2 separate regions of the Homo sapiens genome follow, and region 1 is linked to region 2. Evidence: promoter capture Hi-C in human tissues and cell types (Jung and others, 2019). All regions are on one chromosome and are shown on one strand. The core of a region is centred on a gene start or on the middle of the fragment in contact, and the rest is flanking DNA. Distances in the headings are between cores, read along the strand shown. Region 1 overlaps TMC7 (transmembrane channel like 7). Region 2 holds the start of ARL6IP1 (ARL6 interacting reticulophagy regulator 1).

Evidence for each region. The method cuts DNA at HindIII sites, captures the fragments that hold promoters and counts their contacts. A contact is called where the count stands out against the background at its distance.
Region 1: a contact is called between a fragment that was not itself captured here and the fragment with the promoter of ARL6IP1 in region 2, in 1 of the 25 tissues and cell types used here (lymphoblastoid cells).

What each region holds. Positions count from the first base shown.
Region 1 is chr16:19,012,222-19,017,977 of GRCh38, reverse strand. TMC7 (transmembrane channel like 7) reads right to left here. Exons shown (of 16, transcript NM_024847.4): 3 at 1,380-1,528. It also overlaps the pseudogene RNU6-1340P. Among named protein-coding and RNA genes, the nearest start is that of TMC7, 31 kb to the right of the region's middle. The HindIII fragment of the contact is 4,872 bases long and covers 1-4,842 here.
Region 2 is chr16:18,799,187-18,804,617 of GRCh38, reverse strand. It overlaps ARL6IP1 (ARL6 interacting reticulophagy regulator 1), which reads left to right and starts at 3,069. Exons shown (of 6, transcript NM_015161.3): 1 at 3,069-3,187. The coding sequence starts at 3,152. RefSeq lists enhancers at 2,526-2,765, 3,146-3,225, 3,446-3,565. The HindIII fragment of the contact is 10,319 bases long and covers 480-5,431 here.

The DNA of each region.
Region 1 (5,756 bases), core at 1,157-3,656, 210 kb before region 2:
TTTTTTGGAGCCAGGCGTGGTGGCTCACGCCTGTAATCCCAGCACTTTGGGAGGCCGAGAAGGGCGGATGACGAGGTCAGGAGATCAAGACCATCCTGGCTAACACGGTGAAACCCCGTCTCTACTAAAAATACAAAAAATTAGCCAGGCGAGGTGGCGGGCACCTGTAGTCCCAGCTACTCGGGAGGCTGAGGCAGGAGACTGGCGTGAACCCCGGGGGGCGGAGCCTGCAGTGAGCCGAGATTGCACCACTGCACTCCAGCCTGGGTGATAGAGCAAGATTCAGTCTCAAAAAAAAAAAAAAAAAAAACTGTTTTTTGAAGAGGCAAGGTCTTAAACTTTGTTACCCAGGCTGGTCTCAAACTCCTGGGCTCAGATGCTCTTCCTGCCTCAGTCTCCCAAAATGCTAGGATTACAGGCATGAACCACCACCTGGCTGGGATAATGTTTTTAATAATATGATAACTGTATGTCTGTTTTTATTTTATGCATTGAAATTAAAAGTATAACATTTTAAAATAATATATTTATGCATAATATTTTAATGCATGAAATAATAGTTTACTAATATTAAAATATTATAATTTAATATTATTTTTAAATAATACTATTTTATGCATTTAATTTAAATTAAATTATTAAATAATTTAATATTATTTTTAAATAATACTATTCATGCATTTCATTTAAATGCATAAGATAAAAAGATATACAGTTATCATATTATTTTAAAAATATGTGTGATAGAATAACCTATGTGAGCATCATGAGCACCTTTACTGGCACTTCTTTTGAGACAGAGTCTCACTCTGTTACCCAGGCTGGAGTGCAATAGTGCGGTCTCAGCTCACTGCAACGTCCACCTCCCAGGTTCAAGTGATTCTCATGCCTCAGCCTCCCAAATAGCTGGGATTACAGGCATGCACTACCATGCCCAGCTAATTTTTTGTAGTTTTAGTAGAGACGGGATTTCACCATGTTGTCCAGGCTGGTCTCAAACTCCTGAACTCATGATTCACCCACCTTGGCCTCCCAAATTGCTGGGATTACAGGAGTGAGCCACTGCGCCTGGTCTTCACTAGCACATTAAATAACAAGATCTAGTGGGAAGTCTAATAATGACTGAAATTTCCAAGTATTCATGGGTATTAACGGTATTCCAAGATAAATACAACAACTGGAAGGGACAGGAAAATATCCACGATTTTTCCTGGTGACAAAGTCACAGGTTCTGCTAAACCTTGCTGTGGTTTGTTGCTCACATTCATCATGGAAAGAAATGCTCAATTTCAGCTAGACCCTAGTGGAAACGAAGCTGTACTTGCTCCCCAGACACAGACTTCTGCGGAGGAGCCTGCAGAGAGGTGAGGACAGCATACCTTCTATGCTGCGGATGTCCTCCCGCCACAGCTCCAGGTGGGTCGTCATCTCTCGAGCCTTCTCTAGGAACCTCTTCCAAGACTTGCTGCTATACCGCTTCCACTGGTCCCATTCGGAGAGATACTTCATTTGTGTCTCTTGAATGTCCCTGCATGGAAAACATGATCATGACAATGACAACAACAGCAGCATCAAGACTCAGCATCCCAGCCTGGCACAGTAGCTCACGCCTGTAATCCCAGCACTCTGGGAGGCCGAGGCAGGTGGATCACCTGAGGTCAGGAGTTCAAGACCAGCCTGGCCAACATGGTGAAACACCATCTCTACTAAAAATACAAAATTAGCCAGGTGTGGTGGCGGGCGCCTGTAATCCCAGCTACTCCACGAGGCTGAGGCAGAAGAACCTCTGGGAGGCGGAGGTTGCGGTGAGCCGAGATGGTGCCATTGCACTCCAGCCTGGGCAACAAGAGTGAAACTTCATCTCAAAAAAAAAGAAAGAAAAGAAAAGAAAGACTCAGCATCTCATAAAATCCCAGCTGAAAGGACAGAGAAATATGTGAGCTCTCATACATTGCTGCAAGGAATATAAAATGCCGCCGCTATGGAAAAAAGTTTGGCAGTCCGTCAAAATGTCAAACAGAATAACCATGTGCCATGTAGTTCCACTCCTAGGTACATACAAAGAATTGAAAACAGGGCTCTCAAACAAAAACTTGTCATGAGGCTGGGCGTGGTGGCTCATGCCTGTAATCCAAGCACTTTGGGAGGCTGAGGCAGGTGGATCACCTGAGGTCAGGAATTCGAGACCAGCCTGGCCAACATAGTGAAACTCCATCTCTACTAAAAATACAAATTAGCCAGGCATGGTGGTGGGCGTCTGTAATTCCAGCTACTTGGGAGGCCGAGGCAGAAGAATTTCTTGAACCCGGGAGGCGGAGTTTGCAGTGAGCCGAGATCATGCCACTGCACTATGTTGGCCAGTCTGGGCAACAAGAGTGAAACTCGGTCTCAAAAAAAAAAAAAAAAACTTGTCTTGAGTGTTCGTAGCAGCATTGTTGCTAATAATCAAAAGGTAGAAACAATCCAAATGTCCACTGACAGATAAGTGGATTTTTTTAAATGTGGTCTATCCACACAATAGGATATTATTCAACCTCAGAAAGGAATGACGGGCCAGGCACAGTGGCTCATGCCTGTAATCTCTGAACTTTGGGAGGCTGAGGCAGGAGGATTGCTTGAGCCTGGGGGATCAGGCTGCAGTGAGCTGAGATCTCACCACTGCACTCCATCCTGGGAGACAGAGCAAGGCCCTGTCACAAAAAAAAAAACAAGGAGGCCAGGCACAGTGGCTCACACTTGTAATCCCATCACTTTGGGAGGCCAAGGCAGGCAGATCACATGAAGCCAGGAGTTCAAGACCAGCCTGACCAACATGGCGAAACCCCGTCTCTACTGAAAATACCAAAATTAGGTGGGCATGGTGGCAGGCACCTGTAATCCCAGCTACTAGGGAGGCTGAGGCAGGAGAATCGCTTGAACCCGGAAGGCGGAGGTTGCAGTGGGCCGAGATGTTGCCATTGCACTCCAGCCTGGGTGACAGAGCGAGACTCCATATCAAAAAAAAACAAAAAAACAATTAAATAAAAATAATAAAAATAAAAGCCAAAAGAAAAATAATATTTTGTGACACATGAAAATCACATGAAATTCGAATTTCAGTGTCCATAAATATTCCTAGAACACAGCCATGCCAATTCATTTATGAACCATCTGCAACAGGAGAATTAAGTAGTTGCAACAGAGACTACACGGCCCACAAAGCTGATCCTGAGTCTGGAGGGAAGGCAAACAGGCTGACGTCCAACAACGACAGCTCCCTGGGGGAAGTGCTACAAAAGGGGATGTGGTCAGAGCTCTGGAAACCTGGAGGAGGCGCCCCAAGTCCAAGTTGGTGTTGGAGCAGGGAGTAAGGAGAGCAGGGGAAAGAGAAGGTGCTGGGGCCTGAAGGCGAGAGAGGAAACATGAGGAATTTGCCAGCCATCCATGGCATATGGCACACGGCACACGCCTCCACCCTCCCACCAGTCTGTCCTCCATCAGACAGGGAGCTCCTATTAAAGAAAAGGACTTGAACCTTCCATCCAAACGAGCCTCGCAGTGCTGTGCATTGGGTTCCTTATCTGTAACTTGGAGTTAGTAAAGTACCTACCCTTAGATCAGTGGTTCTCAAGTGGGGGCGATTTTGCATACCCCCCAAGGAACATCAGGCAATGGTCTGGGGACATCTTTGATTGTCACAACTTGGGGGAGGGGGACATGCTTCTGGCATCTAGTGGGTAGAGGCCAGGGATGTTGCTAAACATCCTCCAATCCACAGACAGCCCTCCACAACAGAGAACTATCTGGCCCCAAATCTCGATAAGCAAGAGTGCGGCCAGGTGTGGTGGCTCACGCCTGTAATCCCAGCACTTTGGGAGGCCGAGGCAGGCAGATCACAAGGTCAGAAGATCAAGACCATCCTGGCTAACACGGTGAAACCCCATCTCTACTAAAAACAAAATAAAAAATACAAAAAAATTAGCTGGGTGCGGTGGCGGGCACCTGTAGTCCCAGCTACTTGGGAGGCTGAGGCAGAAGAATGGCGTGAACCTGGGAGGCAGAGCTTGCAGTGACCCAAGATGGTGCCAGTGCACTCCAGCCTGGGCAATAGAGCGAGACCCCATCTCAAAAAAAAAAAAAAAAAAAAGCAAGAGTGCTAAGGTTAAAAAAACCCTCCCTCGGCCGGGCGCAGTGGCTCATGCTTGTAATCCCAGCACTTTGGGAGGCCAAGGCAGATGGATCACCTGAGGCTAGGAATTCCAGACGAGCCTAACCAACATGGTGAAACCCCGTCTCTACCAAAAATAAAAAAAATTAGCCAGGCATGGTGGCAGGTGCCTGTAATCCTAGCTACTCAGGAGGCTGAAGTGGGACAGTCGCTGAAACCCGCGAGGCAGAGGTTGCAGTGAGGCGAGATGGCACCACTGCATTCCAGCCTGGGTGACAGAGTGAGATTCCGTCTCAAAAAAAATAAATAAAATAGGCCAGGCACGGTGGCTCATGCCTGTAATCCCAGGACTTTGGGAGGCCGAGGCAGGCGGATCACCTGAGGTCGGGAGTTTGAGACCAGCCTGACCAACATGGAGAAACCCTGTCTCTACTAAAATACAAAATTAGCCAGGTGTGGTGGTGCATACCTGTAATCCCAGCTACTAGGGAGGCTGAGGCAGGAGAATCGCTTGAACCCGGGAGGCAGAGGTTGTGGTGAGCCGAGATCGCACCATTGCACTCCAGCCCGGGCAACAAGAGCGAAACTCCGTCTAAAAATAAATAAATAAAATAATAATAATAATTTGAAAACCTTGCCTCAGAGGGTGGAGTGGGGATTAAAGGAAATAAAGAGCTTAGAATAACAACTATTAGCAATTAGAATTGTCCTTCCTGGCCCGGTGCGGTGGCTAAGCCTGTAATCCCAGCACTTTGGGAGGCCAAGGCAGGCGGATCACCTGAGGTCAGGAGTTCAAAACCAGCCTGACCAACGTGGTGAAACCCTGTCTCTACTAAAAATTACAAAATTAGCCAGGCATGCTGGTGGGTGCCTGTAATCCCAGCTACTCAGGAGGCTGAGGCAGGAGAATTGCTTGAACCTGGGGCAGGGAGGTTGCAGTGAGCCGAGATCCCGTCTCAAAAAAAAAAGAATGATCCTTTCTCCTTTCTGTGTCCTTTTCTTTGCCACTTTCTTTTTTTTTTTTTTTTTTTTTTTTTTTTTTGAGATGGAATCTCACTCTGTCGCCCAGGCTGGAGTGCAGTGGCACGATTTTGGCTCACTGCAACCTCCGCCTCCTGGGTTCAAGTGATTCTCCTGCCTCAGCCTCACGAGTAGCTGGGATAACAGGCAACCGCCACCACACCTGGCTAATTTTTGTATTTTTAGTAGAGATGAGGTTTCACCATGTTGGCCAGCCTGTTCTCGAACTCCTGACCTCAGGTGATCCACCCGCCTTGGCCTCTCAAAATGCTGGGATTGCAGGCATGAGCCACCGCACCCAGCCTTCTTTGCCACTTTCTAGGGATTCACTGGTAAACCAGATAGACATGGGCCCTGCTCATGAGAGTCTGTTAGTTTCATTTTTCCAGTGAGCCTGGAAGTCCCTTGATGGAAGAAAATATGTCTCTCTCTTAGGTGTGGCAGAGTTTGGCATAGAGCAGTAATAGTTTATAAGAATTCAAAATCTGTGAATCTGAAAGAGTGGGAAATAAAATACATTATTTATTTATTTGGTTTTTAAATAAATTTATATATGGAACACTTCATGAATTTGTGTGTCATTCTTGCT
Region 2 (5,431 bases), core at 1,820-4,319:
AAAAAAGACCCCTAAATTCTCAGAAAAGTAACTATTTTATTCTCAAACATCTGTTGTATTTTTGAATAGCAGTAGAAATTCTACTTCAACGATAAAATTCTTTGTGTTAAGGCCCAATTTATAAAGCTTAATTTTGGCAGTATTTAAAAACAAAATTCCCGTAGATCATTATTGACAGATAGGTGCATTCCTTGGAGTGTGAAACCTCTGAAAAAAAATAGAAAATGTCCAGCTTGGCTTTATATCTTGGAGATTGCATTTGTTGCTGCTAAATGAAGTTAGTAAGATTTGTGTTAACTGCTTAGTCATCTGGCACATTTCAAAAGATCACATCCTGTCTCTGTAGGACAAAAACAAAGCTCTAAAGAAAGCTATGTTAAGGGTGGGTGTTTTTTAATAATTAGACCAATCGGAAATTTAGTGAGAGACCATATAGCAGGGCTGTGCATTTAGAAATAGGTATGGGAATACATTGTTAAGTAACAAAAAATACTAAGTGGAGAAACTGCTGTTTCAGTTGCTTCTGTTTTTTTCACCTACCTTCATTTCACAAGCTGGTGTTAACAAGTCTTAAGTTGTGCATGGAAAACTTGGGTGAAAACAAGAAGCATATTCTGCAGCAAAAGCTGATTTCCCAAAAGTAGAAATGTCAGTTTTAAACCCTAATAAAATACCCTCTCTTTTGGAAGTGGCTATTACTGTGGGTCTAGCAAGATCACATACCCAGTGCTCAACATATTCACTAATTATGTGGCTGCTGATTGCTTCGATCTTTTTGACTTTTTTTTTTTTTTTTTTTTTTGAGACAGGTTTTTTGCTCTGTCACCCAAGCTTAAGTGCATAGGTGCAATCATAGCTCACTGCAGCCTCTATTTCCTGGGCTCAAGGGATCTTCCCTGCCTCCCCATTTGTATTTTTTTTTTTTTAGGGGCGTGGAGAAGAACCTGCTCCTCAGACTCCATAGCTTTAAAATCTCTCCAAATAGCGTCTCTGTCAACTGGCTGTATCCTGCCTTTACAACTTCTTTACCCCAACATTCTCCAAAGTGGCACTTTATTGAACAGTCAGCTTCCCTTGCAAAGACTTTTTTTCAAGTGCTTCTCCCTGATTCAGATACTTCACTCCCCTTTCCCCGAAAGACCCACAGCAAATTGACACCCTTCCATGAAATTCACAATGCTCCTGCCCTTGCCCAGCTCTCTTAGGGGCAGTATGTGGTCTGCAGCTATGTTCTCTCACATTTATGACTTCCTTGAACATTTAAGAACCTGGTGGTTACTTAAGGAACATTTTAAAAATAAATTTAAATTCAATGGCCGAATACAAATGACCATGAGATTGGAAGTTAAAACCTGTAAAAAAGATAAAAGGTTGGAAGTTAAAACTATAGTTAATTCACCTGAAACAAACATCTGATCCGGACATTTGGCATGATTCTGTTTGTATCAAACGATGAAAAATCGGCCGGGCGCGGTGGCTACTGCACTACAGCCTGGGCAACAGAGCCAGGCTGTGTCTCAAGAAAAAAAGAAAAAAAAAAAAAAAAAAAAAAAAAAAAGATCAAAGCACTTGTTACTGCATTTGAAATCCTGGATAGAAAAGATGTACAAGTGCCTCAACACAGTTCCTAAACTGCCTAGGAATTCTACTGCTTGTGAGAGGGTTTACATATTTTCTTAGCTTGACCTCTAATGGAAGAAAGGTCGTGTCAAGAACTATCCTTTTGGCCGGGCGCGGTAGCTCACGCCTGTAATCCCAGCACTTTGGCAGGCTAAGGCGGGCGGATATCTTGAGGTCAGGAGGTCCAGACCACCCTGGCCAAAATAGCGAAACCCCGTCTCTATTAAAATACAAAAATTAGCCGGGCGTAGTGACGGGCGTCTGTAATTCCAGCTACTCGGGAGGCTGACGCGCCAGGATCACTTGAACCCGGGAGATGGAGGTTACAGTGAGCAGAGATCGCGCCACTGCACTTCAGCCGGGGCCACGGAGCGCGAGACTCCTTCGTCTCAAACAAACAAACAAACAATTCTGGCCGGGCGCGGTGGCTCACGCCTGTAATCCTAGCACTTTGGGAGGCCGAGGCGGGCGGATCACGAGGTCAGGAGATCGAGACCATCCTAACACGGTGAAACTACGTCTCTACTAAAAATACAAAAAATTAGCCAGGCGTGTTGGCGGACGCCTGTAGTCCCAGCTACTTGGAAGGCTGAGGCAGGACAATGGCGTGAACCCGGGAGGCAGAGCTTGCAGTGAGCAAGATCGCGCCACTGCACTCCAGGCTGGGCAACATAGCGAGACTCCGTCTCAAAAAAAAAGAAAAAAAAAAAAAGAATCCTTTTGGAGAGGGAGCTTGTAGTTTAAGTAACTTAAACATCCACGTATAATAAAGCCACTTAGAAGGCGGTGCATTTTCACACGTTCTCAAACCAGGCCTGGGTTTTTCCGCGCAAGCTAAGGCCTCATTCCTACTGGGTAGGAGAGAAACATTGCAGCAAAATCCACACAAAGAGCTCTTTTCACTTGTCCTCAAAACCTCACGGGTCGCAAATCCGGGCTAAACGGCTCAGGGGCCTGGCTGGGGAACTGGGCCGAAGGTGGAACGGATCCCAGCCACCTCGGGGCCAGGAAAAGATGAAGTGTCGCAGGCCCGGCGTCCCCGCCCTCCGCCTGAGGCAACGGAGCATCTCTCTTCGAGTAGCCCATTTTCCAGAGAGTCTCCTCGGCTGCGAAAGCCAGACGAAGAGGGACCCAAAGCCACCGCAGCGGCAAGAGCCGGAGAACCACTGAGGGACAGCGCCCCCTGCAGAGGCGGTTGAACCGCTTCCCACAGCGCTGGGCGGGGCGTCGCGCAGTCCCTGGGCGCTGATTGGGCACTCCGTGTCCCCTCCCCCTCGGCCCGGCGCTGCCTCTGTCTCCTTTGACCTCGATTTCAAGCCATGCGCTGAGCTTCGGTTGGCCCGGCTTCCTTGAGGCGTAAGCTCGGTCTGTCCAATGAGGAGCGAGCGTCGCGGGGGCCGTCGGGAAGGGCGGCCGACCCATATAAGCAGCCTGCGGGGCGTTCCCTCGGGTTGTGGTTGGTGTGCGGGTTTCGGTTGGAGGACTCGTTGGGGAGGTGGCCTGCGCTTGTAGAGACTGCATCCCCGAGACGATGGCGGAGGGAGATAATCGCAGCACCAACCTGCTGGTGAGTCCTGGCTGCCTGTCCCCCGGGAGCCGAGCGAGGCCTCCAGACGTCCGTGGGCTCAAACACCGCGGCCTCGTCCCTGTCACCCGCCGCGGGCCCGGCCCTTCTCTCCCTGGGCAGGCGACGATGCCTGGCCCTCGGGCTTCTTGGGTGACTCCTGGGTGTCGAACCCTTACCTTTCCTGGGGACGGTGCGCGACGGGGCGAGGAGGGCGCGTGATTCATCACCGCGAGTAGGAGTCGAGGAGGAAGTGGGAGGCAGAGGGGCTGCGACACTAGCCTGGGGTGCGGGTGGGGGCAGAAGGCCTCCTGGGGCCTGTCCAGCGCTTTCGCGGCTCAGGCCCCAGCCGTATTCGGCTTTCCCCGTCTTTGATCTTAACCTGGATGTGCCTGCCTTCTTTTCCCCCTAAAACTTGGACAAGGGTGGAGGGTCAAAGGGCTACTGCCCAGAATTTATCTTAGAGCTGGTACAACTTAAAACGACAGGGAGGCTGCGAGCTCACCGTGGGGAACCGGGAGCGGGGTCCAGCTGAACAGACAATGGGATGTCTTGGCGTTTGTCTGGAATTTGGAAGTCTGGCGGGGGTGGGGTCACAGGACTACTGGAAACAGCTTTAGAGTAATAAGCAGGGATCCGAAGGAACTGCAGTGAGATGGTATCATAGGCGGACACATTTTTATTTGTTATGAATTTAAGCGCACCTTGTGGGCAAAAAACAAGAGAAATATCCTTGCATATTCTCAGTTGCCCTTCCCTGGTGACTGTAGGTCACATACCAGCAATGAAAAACGGAACCAAAGAATTTACTTAGGGGCTTTTGAACTTCCAAGACCCCAGACGCTGGCCAATGACGTGACTTCAGGGCAGTTTTGATTGTGCGTGATTTTATATTTGCTTTTAGAAATGCATGGTTTGTTCCTTTAAACACACGCTCCTTCTAGCATAGTTAGTTCTCAGCGTGGATCTTTTTAAGAGGATTAATTGAAGCACAGAGAAGTAGCTCAAGCCCTGTTGAAATGACAAATCCTGGGCTAGAGCTCCTGCTTCCCAACTCTCCTTCCAGCAGAGCAATATAACTCTAAGGAAAGCAACGCCTTTGGTCGTGGATTTCTTGGATGCAGATCAGTTAACCTCTGTATCTGTTTCCTCCTTGGTAAAATGGGGACAGTAATAACACCTTTTTTTAAGGGTTGTTAGGAAGATTAATTGAAGTATAAATATGAATGCTCAGCAGAGTGCCCACACATAGTAGTCTCTTTCACTAGTATTAAGCATGGAATATAAAGTCAGAAATATTGAGATCACACTAGTGCTCAGCGTGGCACAGATAGCGAGCGTCTTTGTTAAGATTAAGTGCCTTGTTCTGTCATTTGCATGATTTCCAGTGAATGACTTTTACAAAGAGACAAGGTCTCAGCCCAGGCTGGTCCCGATCTCCTGGGCTCAAGCAATCCCCCCCGACCCGCCAAGTGCTGGGTTTACAGGCGTGATCCACTGCATCCAGCCTGATAACATAGAGACACTTGAGTTTCTTATTCTAAATTTTTCTTCCTTTACCAAAACCAGCTTTAAGGGCTTTTGCCACATTAGCTCATCCTAGAGGCCCACTTTCGGCTGTTCAGAGTCAGAGAAATTTGAAGTATAATCAAAATGACATCCTGAGTGGTAAGAAACACTGTATTGAGGAGGTATATTGACCGTAAAATGCCACCTTAATTTGGTGAAAGTAGTTTTCCTTAATTGTCCAATGAATGTCAACATCTGAGTGATTCCATTACACAAAGAGCTATTTTAGAAATTGAATGCTATTCAGGGAAAGTCTTTCCTAATGGATTTAGAAGGGTTTAAATCAATAAGATGACAAAAACAACGGATCAATTCTAACCATCTGAAATAAACAAACTTAAAAAAAGTTATTTCATTTTATTAATACTCTGGGCACTGCCACGATTCCCCGCATGACTTTGAGAAAGTAAACCATTTTGAGCTCACTTTCTTTAATTGTAAATTGAGTCTAATTATCCCTACCTTGTGGCTCTCTGTAAGGATTAAGTTACATCATGTATATAAAGAATAGCCCAGTGCTTGGACTAGAAAAGTGACCATTAAAGGATATTTAGGCTGGGCCTGGTGGCTCACACCTGTAATCCCAGCACTTTGGGAAGACGAGGTGAGTGGATCACTTGAGGTCCAGAGTTTGAGACCAGCCTGGCCAACATGGTGAAACCCTGTCTCTACAAAAAA